Linked DNA regions of Homo sapiens: region 1 is linked to region 2. The links are contacts of gene promoters, found by promoter capture Hi-C in blood cells and fetal thymus (Javierre and others, 2016). All regions are on one chromosome and are shown on one strand. Each heading gives the region's core, a stretch centred on a gene start or on the middle of the fragment in contact. The rest is flanking DNA. Distances are from core to core; before and after follow the strand shown. Region 1 overlaps PCCA (propionyl-CoA carboxylase subunit alpha). Region 2 holds the start of PCCA-AS1 (PCCA antisense RNA 1).

Region 1 (5,392 bases), core at 1,113-3,612, 240 kb after region 2:
CCATGTATAACACATTTGAGTACCTTACAGTATTTTACACAAAGTAGTCGCTCAAATTTTAGCTGCCATCCTCTAATCCCATTGGTTTAGACACAGTATAATAAAAAGTCTGTGGTCTTTGGAGTCAAATAAACCTAAATTTAAACCAGGGTCCACCACTCGATAGTTCTGTGACCTTGAGCAAATTACTTACCATTTCTAATCATTAGTTTCCTTAAATGTAAACAAAAATGATTAAACCCAAGAATTAGCATTAGAAACAACATTTCCAAAGTGCCTGGCCTTAGGAAGAAATGCTCCATAAACTGGAGTTACCATTATGTAAAAGGCACTTAATTCATCAATGCTCAATACAGTGAGTTTCCTACTTTGGCAGCATAGATTAATGTTTCCAGAAGAAAAGCAAAGACATGAGAGAGGAGGAAATCACATAAAACAGGATAAACTTCATTTTCATCACATAACACAGAAAGAATTAAGAGAGAACTCTATGAATAGGTATAACACATGGACAATCAACAACTTACAAATGGATAGGTTCAAAGGTTTGATTATAAATCAGTTGTTTAGAACTAGGAACACATTTTCACATGGAATCATAATCATAGTTAAAATGTGATATATCTCAATAAAATCAGTAGTAAAAAACTTACGAAATATCAAACAACACAGAAAGCCAACAGACTTTAATAAAACATAATTTAATTTACTTTAGAAAGTAGCACTTCAAGGAAAAGATTTTATGCGAGGCTTCTGAGGTGATTCAGAAGAGATTTTCAGAGAAATTCTAAAAGCTTTGTAAGAGCTGATGACCCTAGTTCTTTATGGTTTATTTTACCTCAAATTTTATGGTTTCCCTTTCTTTCAGTATAAGCAAAACACCAGTACTCTTATACTTAATAGCCATGATTGCTATCATTTATTTCACAAGCAAGAGAGAGTAATTGGGGAAGAATTAGAAGAAGGACAGGAAAGAGAAAGGAGTCATAAAGGATGTGCCCAAGTACAAAGAAAAAAGACTTAGATTAGATTAGGTAACTTCAGTAGGAAAAAATAAAAAATGAAAAGGAGGTAAAGCACAGCATTAAAATATTGAGGGAGGAAAGCAAAGTGATGAGAACTAGTTAGACAGAGGCCCATCATGATGAGCTGGTTATCTTAAAGGTGACAGGTTATAACGAAAGTGGAAAATGGCCAGGTGCACTGGCTTATGCCTGTAATCCCGGCACTTTGGGAGGCTGAGGTGGGCAGATCACCTAAGGTCAGGAGTTCGAGACCAGCCTGGCCAGTATGGTGAAACCCCGTCTCTACTAAAAATACAAAAAAATTAGCTGGCATTGTGGTGTGTGCCTGCAATCCCAGCTACTCAGGAGGTGAAGGCAGGAGAATCACCTGAACCCGGGAGGCAGAAGTTGCAGTGAGCAGAGATCGCACCACTGCACTCCAACCTGGGCAACAAGAGTGAAAAGTCTGTCTCAAAAAAAAAAAAAAAGAAAGAAAGAAAGAAAGAAAGTGGAAGAAAAGGCATAAAGGAAGCAAAGCAATCCACGGCCTGCTATTTACACAAAGGGAATGCTCGCAAGTCCAAAATTCACCATTCAAAATGTGGCACTGCAGTGTAACTGTAAATTTTCTTCTAATCCCTTTATTTCCCTAAATTTCTCTAAATATTGTCCTTTATGTAGATACTGTAATAATAATAATAACAGTATTATTATATCCAATGAGGTTGATAATAATATCTAACCTAGAACTAGAAAAAGAGCTTTTTAAATGTAAAGATGTCTGACAGGATGGAATTAAACTATTTTAGAAAACTATCCTCAAAAGCCAGTAGGTATATTATATGCCTCTTAGGCAATGAGGAATACCAGTGATTTCAAACCATGAACAGAAACTTTTGATTTTTCTCCATAAAGAAACCACAGAATCAGTTCTATATAGTCCAGTTTATTTAGCAGTCGAGCAAATGTTCCTATGAAGTACTGATAGGCTTTTTGAAATGTTAATGATTCTGAAAAAAAAAATGAAGAGATGAGGTAGTCAGATAAAATAAGATTTTCTATGGTCTGGTCTTAAATCCAGGACCTATATCAATAAGATAGATTTTTGCAAAGCAAACAACAAAACACACTTAATGATGGGCAAAGCCCAAATAATTTAGACAGTACCAACTACAAACAAGGGTGCAATAAGCCAAACTGCTTTTCAGGTCACTAAAGACCTGCTAAGTTAGACTGTCCCATTTGCAAAGAACACGCTTACTAGTACAAGTGATCACTTCCAGACCAATAAGATATTTCTACATATCACAACTATATGAGCTTTGCCAAATCAAATGCTCTCTAGAGGCAGAAAATAGATCTAAATAATCTTAGTGAGAAAACAGGCCTACAGAAATGTTCGTGTGGCACGATGAGATGCTTGGACTGAGGCGTACAGGAATGCTGAGAAGACGCTGGGATCCCTACAAGCATTGCCTAATTTCTCTCATCTGTACAAATTTCTGTCAAATGTATACAATTACTGATTTGATTATTAAACCTGCAAAGTTATTTAACAATATTGTTAATCCATATAATAGCATGCCCTTACACATTTTCTCAATTAGCAGATACCAAAAATAGTTCTCATGACCGCCAAGAATATTTTTAAAATTAAAAAGTTGCGAGCCAGGGGCGGTGGCTCACGCCTGTAATCCCAGCACTTTGGGAGGCTGAGGCGGGTGGATCACCTGAGGTCAGGAGTTCGAGACCAGCCTGGCCAACATAGTGAAACTCCATCTCTACTAAAAATACAAAAAATTAGCTGGGCGTGATGGCAGGCACCTGTAATCCCAGCTACTAGGGAGGCTGAGGCAGGAGAATCGCTTGAACCTGGAAGGCAGAGGTTGCAGTGAGCGGAGATCGTGCCATTGCACTCCAGCCTGGGCAATGACAGCAAAACTCCATCTTAAAAAAAAAAAAGGAAAGAAAAGAAAAAGAAAAGAAATTAAAAAGTTGGGAAACACTGCCCAAATACAAGTACATGTAAAACAGCCATTAAAAACTCCTCCAGTCTACCTTTTATTCCAATTTAGATCATTCAGTTCTAATTTCCCACATCTATTTTATCTTTCCCATCTAACAAGATTAAGTTGATACCTAACATCTTAGCAAAAGGCAAAAACTTAAAGAACTATGTCACATATGGTATCTTCATTTTAATCCAAATGTTCTTAATTTTAACAAACCACATTCAACTATGTACATATAAATTGACATTAAACTTATATCCAATCTTTAGAATTCTTAAGACAATTCCTTCTTTGAATTAGCCTGTGATCTCATCTTACAAAAGAGTTATGTATAGTTAAGGTCAAATTACTCTTTACAGTCTCCTTTAATAATAGAATTTGGCAATTCAACTGATACATTCTTCCAGAGCAACAAGTAATCAAAATCTAAAACTATTAAAGTATTATTTGCTCTATGGGAATTACTTATTACCTGTTGACTCAACCGTATCTGCTGAAAGACACAGAAATCCTACCAAAGTTAATTTAAGGACTTACCAATTTCCCTTGCAATTCTGACAGCTTCTTCTGCATCCTGTAAAAGCAGGAAATGAGACTCAACATTAATCCCATGAGGCATTGCACAATGTCTTTAGGGCAGTCATATATTGCACTACTGTCTCCTCCGATTCATTTAATGTTCAATTTTACTACCTTCTAACCCTTTTCATTCAGAGAAATGTAAAATTAATACCATAAGTGGAATGTAAATTCTACCTCATCATTATTATATTAAGAAACTCAAAGCAGTTGAAATGAGCTGGCAGGAAGCACTACCAGAATTGCCAATGATTTGGTGCAGTTGCCGGAATTTAATGGCAGAATTTAGATGTTTACAATCAATACTGAATCATAAATCAGGTCATTAAAGCTTGTCCGCAGCCAGCTTGTTTCTGTCCAATATTATGTGTCATGTTTTCCTAGATTCTGTCAGCAGGGGGAGTTGATTCTCTATTGTTTGGGAGTAGTTGATCGATTTTGCAGAAATATGAAAGTTAATTTCCAGTACCTACAGGAATTACGAATTGTTCCAAAAAATCCTTTTGGTAATCTGCATTACCTTTTCTTTTCTATTGTTTCTTTCTTTTTTTTTTTTTTCAGGTACATATTTTATCTCTACAATTGTATCTTGTTACATAAATTAAAAAAAAACTTTAATTTCAACGAACCAACTACTGGAGGAAAAAACTCCAAAAAGCAAAAGAAAGAAAATACCTTCCTAAACAGTAAGGGGTAAAAGTTTATCCATTTAAGGATTAGTTATTGCTAAATATTAACCAATGCCACTTCTACCTCTAAGAAGATGAAAAGACAAAAACTTCCCTTGAATCTAAGTAATTTCACTGATCATTAACCCTCACCTAACACATCCAACACAGGACACTGCTGAATCATTTCCCCAAATAACAATAAAGATAATGTTGAAATCTAAGCCTCCTTCGTGTGTGTGGGTATGTGTGGGGTGTGTGTGTGTGTGTGTGTGTTTGTGTAATTCAGTGACACAAACTAAACTACCACAAAGACTGACAATATTGTTTTGAAACCACAGCTGGTAAGTGTGACTGAATTTTTAGAAAATGACTAAAATGCTGAAGTGAAGCCCAGTGTTTTTTAAGCTTTTAAGCTAATACGTTTAAAATGTAGAGCAACCATGTCAGAATCCTCCGAGAAGGGGGCGGGGGGGGATGTTTATAACTGGTTCACTTATGTCTAATAAAAAAAAATCTTCTTTAAAGTTCTTCAGTACCTAATAACATCCCCTGAATAAGGAGGTTGGCAGGGGAAGTTGTCAGAAAAATTTAATTTCCTTTCATTAGCCAGTCTGCTCCACAAATAGGTGCTTGTTAAGTTCAAAGGGGTCCTGAAAGCGACATCAGTTTTAAGTTGTTTTTTTTTTTTTTTACTCCAAGCAGTCACATCTGCTAATGAGATTTTCCAAATAACAATTGTTTTCAAGTCAGAGATAAATCTATATCTCCCACCCTATGCCTTCCAAAATCAAGGTTTACTGCTTTATTACACGTTGCTGTTTTCGCTGACCCTACATTCTCCAAACTTTAGCTTAAAGGGATGAAAATCCATGAAAAGGGTCATTTAAGAATGTTAGTGGTTTCCACACATTGAGTTGGAAGGTTCTTTGTTCCAGCCAGTGACAGTTATTGGAGAATACTTCCCCTTAATAGCCTCTCTGTCAGGAAGTGTTAAACCTGCCAAATGCGAACAATTAGTGCCTCTTGAACAAAATACAGGAAGAGTGATGGCTGATGAAGACTGGATTATAATAAACCTAGAAGAAAACTTTTAACATTTCTTTCCAACGTGATGAGAGAAAATAAA
Region 2 (5,603 bases), core at 420-2,919:
CCAGGAGGTGGAGGTTTCAGTGAGCTGAGACTGCACCATTGCATTTCAGCTTGGGGAACGAGCGAACGCTCTCTCAAAACAAACAAACAAAAAACCAAAACAAAAAACCTTGTTATGTCAATAAGAGTATTTCTAAGTGGGTTAGCAGCTCCCTGACAGGCTACCTCTCCAGCCTTCCCAGGCCCACCCATCCTTGGTTCCCTCTCTAGCCTCACAAGACAGCGCTCTTCTCATCACACTCAGGCATTTCACTGGAGCCCCTGATCTCGCTTTGCCCTCCTCTCTTGGAGCCTGCCTCATCAACTGTCCTCTCTTCCCTCTCTATTGGCCCCTTCTCTTCATCCTGAAAGTCAACCTGAGTCATTCCAATCAACAAATTCTCTCTCGACTCTGCATCCCTCCTGGCTACTGCCTTCTGACCTGACCCATGTTCTCCACACAGTCCTCTGCTCTAGCTGCTGCAACCACACTTGCACTCACGACCAAACCAGCCCTACGTGGCTATCGCCACCACTGTTCTTCCTAACTGACAAGCTGTCTCAGGTACCCACAGGTTAGATATTTCAGGGGAAATGACTGTTACAGAAATGTTCATGTTAGAATGAAGAAACAGATCAATACACATCAATCATATTAAAAAGGTGCTTCTAAGACAAAGCATATATTATTTTTATTATTCATATTCAATATTTTAGGAATTAAAGCAACGATGTTTCTGCAAATTTATGGTTTTGAATTGATGGTACGTTGTAATAATGCATAGATAGGGTCTGCCTGAGCTTTCACCCCAGGAACTGTAAACTTTATATTACAGTAGTCCCCCCTTATCCAAGGTTTTAGCTTTCCAAGGTTTCATTTACCTGTGGTCAACCATGGTCCAGAAACATTATATGGAAAATTCCAGAAATAAACAATGTATAAGTTTTAAATTGTGAGTCATTCTGAGTAGTGTGAGGAGATCTTGTGCTGTCCTGCTCCATCCTGCCTGGGTCATAAACCCTCTCTCTCGGGGTCCAGCATCTCCACGCTGTAGACACCCCCACCACCAACCAGTCACTTAGTGGCCATCTCAGTTACCAGATCTACTGTCAGGGGGTCTCAGTGCTTAGGTTCCTTTTTTATTTTTGAGACAGAGGCTGGCTCTGTCGCCCAGGCTGGAGTGCAGTGGCATGATCTTGGCTCGCTGTAACCTCCACCTCCTGGGCTTAAGCCATGCTCCCACCTCAGCCTGCCGAGTAGCTGGGACTACAGGTATGTGCCACCGTGACCGGTGAATTTTTGTGTTTTTTGTAGAGGCAGAGTTTTGCCATGTTGCCCAGGCTAGTCTCAAACTCCCGAGCTCAAGTGATCCACCTGCCTTGGACTCCCAAAATGCTGGGATTACAGGTGTGAGCCACTGTGCCTGGCAGGAACTATTATTTGACTTCACAATGGCCTCAAAGTTCCAAGAGTATGATGCTGGCAATCTGGATATGCCAAAAACCAGCCATGAAGTCCTTCCTTTAGTTAAAAGGTGAAAGTTCTCAAGAAAAAAAAAAGTATGCTGAGATTGCTAAGATCTACAGTAAGAATCAATCTTCTATCCATGAAATTGTGAAAAAGGACAAAGAAATTTGTGCTAGTTTTGCTGCTGTACCTAAAACTACAAAAGTTACAGCCACAGTGTGGGCTAAGTGCCGAGCTGAAATGGAAAAGGCATTAAAGGCAAGCGTATACAGGGTTCGGTCCCATCCGCAGTCTTAGGCATCCCCTGGGGATTTTGACATGGATCCCCCGTGGAGAAGGGGGGCTACTGTACAGTACACTTCCCTTCAGCAAGCCGCATATTCAAGTTCTCTATTTCAGATTCCCCTTCGTGACTGTCATGCAGGAAGCAAAGAAAACCCATTGTGTCCAAGGAAATTTTTACTTTCTCTAGGGATTCAGAAACCTGACTTTCTGATACTCAGAAACTCAGTGCGCATGGGTGAGAAGGCTCGGTAGGGAAGAGGTGCTTTGTAGCTCAGGATCTGCTGGAGCTGAGGGCGTTTTTTGGTTTAATCTAGTTTCACTGTGTGTTTCATGGAGAGGTTCCTCTAGGAACAAAAGGTTCTATGGAAGTCACGTCCTTTATCCCTCTTAGCCATCCCTGTGTCTGCCTTAGCCAACCTCCCATTTGTAAAAAGAAAGCAGAGACCAGGCTATGGCTGAATAGTTTCAGACAGCCCCTATACCACTGTCAGCCTTTGCAAAGTGTAATGCTTTAATTACAAGGGTCACACAAGGTCTTAAGACACAGGAGTCCCTGTGTCTGAACGTAATCACTGTGTATGCGTCTCAGCCTAATGAGGAGGTGACTATCATGAAGGTCTGGTGGTGAAGATCTTGCAAGAAGGTGCCTTGTTTGAGATCTTTCAAGGAAACACAGTACTCAATAAATGTGGGTGAGTAGAAATTACAATTTAGTTGGGTTAATTTTTGGTAGTAATATGGAGCTTTGCAAAGAGAAAGGCATTTGCTGAAGACACTGGTAAAATATGTGCTGAAGCTCTGCCTCATCTAGTCTGGTTCAAAAGTCAAATATCAAAGAGTCAAGAGACCCTCCTATTCAGAAGAAAGCCCTGACTTGTTAATTTATTAGAAGCAAGAGTAAATGCTCCATAGGTTTTTCATTAAATAAAATTAGATCTAGTCCCAGGGCTTTTCTGTAATGGGTGCTCCTGAGTCAGGAATCAAGACCCATGAAGTAAGAAAAGAACAGGTAGGCAAGGGGGTACCTTCTCCTCTAACAAAAGTGGCCTATCAGATGGTCAGGGAGTCTCTATCAGTGGAGCCAAACCAGCTCCACTGACACAGTTAAAGACCCTTGCCATCAAGTGCAAAGGGAAGCAGTAGGACTTAGAGTAGGCCATTTCCTACTAAAAATGGAATCATTTTTCAGTTCGGTGTACAGTTGAGCCTTGAGCAACATGGATTTGAACTGCATGGGGCCACTTAAATGTGCATTTTCTTATGACTCCGCTGCTCTTGAGACAGCAAGATCAAGCCCCCTCCTCCTCAGCCAACTCAACGTGAAGACAATGAAGATCAAGATCTTTAAGATGATCCACTTCCACTTAATGAATAATAAATATATTTTGTCGTTATGATTTTCCTAACACTTTCTCTAGCTTACTTTATTGCAGGAATACAGTATATAATCATGTAACATACCAAATACGTGCTAAATGACTGTATGTTATTGGTAGGACTTCTGGTCAGCAGTAGGCTACTAGCAGTTACATTCTGGGAGAGTCAGAAGGTATCCGTAGATTTCTGACTGCACAGGGTTGATATCCCTAGCCCCCATATTGTTCAAGGGCCCACTGTATCTAGGACGTTGGTCAGCACACTTGTACCCCATCAGAATCTCTCAGGAGTCTTCCCTGTGCCACACTCAGTGATTCCCTCATTACAAGATTAGGCATCCCTGTGATGAATGGGCTTTCATTTTGGTTTTTATTTTTGAGTAACCAGCAGGAGTTTACCTGGGATTTGAGGAATGGATAACATGACCTTTTTTCCCAGTATATAAAGGGCTTTACCTAAAAGGGCCCAGCTATTTCTTTAATAAAAGTGAGTAGTGGGGCTATGACTGATGATTATCTGTCAGAGAATAAGTGGGATTATTGTGTTTTTAGGTAACGTCCCAGAAACTGTGGCTGTCCCTTACCCTGAGTGAGAAGGTTCTGGTGCATGCAGAGTCAAATTGTGTGTTTCTATCCCTCTGAACCCTGTGCAGAGAGAAAAGTTGGTCAGCTTCCATTTCTCTTGGCTTACCAGTTCTAGTACCAAGAATTCTGTTACTATAATATGAGGAGCCCCATTCTTTCCTTTTTATAGTAGAAAAAGCAATTCTACTAGGCTTATCCAGAAAGGCATGCTAGAAGCAACTCCCTTAAGCCAGCCTAGCAGGATTTCCAGGACGAGTGTTCATGCCCCAGGGCTGCTTAGGAGGTGAGGAGTCACTCCCAGGGTGACCGCTCCTGAGGCCGCTACAGTACGCCTGGCTGTGAAGAGGCAGGCGAGCCCTCCTGACCAGGCAATTTCCTCCTCATCATGGCGTCGAGGGTAACAGCAGCAGCTCCTGGAAGCTGTTGCCTCCTCCTATGAGAACTAAGTCAGAGGCTGAGAGTGTGCTGGGGGAGGGGACACAGGTCTTCCCACCTCTCAGTCGGGGACCTCCCCAGGTACCCAGGGAAGGGGTGGGGCCTCCCAGGCACCCGCCCAGCATCAAGAAGAGGGCTGAGAAGCTACAGTTCCAGAGTGGGAGGGAAAGGACACTCGCCAGAGCAGGCTGATCCCAGAGCCCCAAACTCCTCTGGTGTCCACTTGGGCCCAGGAAGGGAGACAGTTGTCAGGGCTCTGGTCTGACCCACTGACCACAGGCCACAATGGCGACAGACCGCTCCTCAGAGGATTCAAAACTTTTCTCTGGAGGAGACAAGACTAGGTTGTTGAAGACAGACAATTTCCTGGATCAAGGGGAAAAAAAATCCACAGAAAAATAAATATGTCCTCAGACCTACCATTCCTCTTCAGGGTAAAATGCAATGAATTGCGGGCTTCTGAGCTAACAAGGCCAAGTTAGGCCAAGGGCAGTTCACAGCTGATCATTTGCTAAGAAACAAAAGCCTAAAAGGCCCGATTAGCTCGAGCTCGCCACATCCAGCAACAACCTGGAGCGGCCGTCAGCGCAGGGCTGGGTACTGCCCGCGGCCACAGGCCTTGTCAGGTGCAGGTGGCCAGCTGTTCCTCATGCTCTGCAGACGGGACAAGAAGGGCTGCATTCAATCCAGGGAAGGTAGAGGCTTCTTTCTTTCCCAGGAGCCAAGGAGACAGTCACATGAAGAGGCTGAGAAATCAGGACTCAGGGGTGAAGGGTAACTCTGCCACTGCCCACAGGAGAACACACGCTTCATAGGGCTCACCCCATCATTTTATTTGTTTATAGTATTCCTGAGATTTCCCTACCGTATACTGTCCAAACTTGCTATTCAACAAGGATTACCACAGTTCTTTTTAGGAACAATCCTTGCTACAGTACTCTCTGGATGATTTAAACAATTATTTCTTAACAACTCTCTTCCCATCATCCACAGGGTCACTGCCTTGCCCCTAAAGCCGCCGTCTCTCACCTGCACTACCCGAATGAGCACTGAGAACTTAAAGCTGTATAATATCAAATCATTAACATGCAGAAAATAGTATAACTTTCAGTAGTATTTTCTTATTCACTGAATTTCCAACAGGAATTAGAAACTCCACATCTAACTTAGTTGCCTTGAGGAAGCAGCTATGGCAACCAGAAAGTTCCCAGGATCCTGTCTCCTAAAGGTAAATAAAACTTTACTCTTAGGTGTGAAATATTTCCACACTGCTAGTTATTGAGTGGTAACATTGTGCCAGGAACTGTACTAAGTGTTATGCATGCACCAACTCATTTAATTCTCACTGTCGCCAATGAGGTAGATGGTACAATCACTCTCATTTTACAGACCCAGAAACTGTGCCGAGAGAGCGTAAATGAGGCCAAGCAAATAGCCAGTAAATTAGTATGCACTTGACTTTAAAGCAGGTGCCCT

The links. The method cuts DNA at HindIII sites, captures the fragments that hold promoters and counts their contacts. A CHiCAGO score of 5 or more calls a contact.
Region 1: a fragment that was not itself captured here is called in contact with the fragment with the promoter of PCCA-AS1 in region 2 in 2 of 17 cell types (M2 macrophages and M0 macrophages); the score reaches 6.0 in M2 macrophages.

What each region holds. Positions count from the first base shown.
Region 1 is chr13:100,234,040-100,239,431 of GRCh38, reverse strand. PCCA (propionyl-CoA carboxylase subunit alpha) reads right to left here. Exons shown (of 24, transcript NM_000282.4): 8 at 3,554-3,590. Among named protein-coding and RNA genes, the nearest start is that of PCCA, 150 kb to the right of the region's middle. The HindIII fragment of the contact is 3,132 bases long and covers 797-3,928 here.
Region 2 is chr13:100,477,081-100,482,683 of GRCh38, reverse strand. It overlaps PCCA-AS1 (PCCA antisense RNA 1), which reads left to right and starts at 1,669. Exons shown (of 5, transcript NR_047686.1): 1 at 1,669-1,704; 2 at 5,271-5,355. The region is part of intron 21 of PCCA (propionyl-CoA carboxylase subunit alpha); the gene reads right to left. It overlaps LOC107984574 (a long non-coding RNA gene), which reads left to right and starts at 1,477. Exons shown (of 3, transcript XR_007063850.1): 1 at 1,477-1,564; 2 at 2,254-2,423; 3 at 2,921-3,137. The HindIII fragment of the contact is 6,979 bases long and covers 1-5,603 here.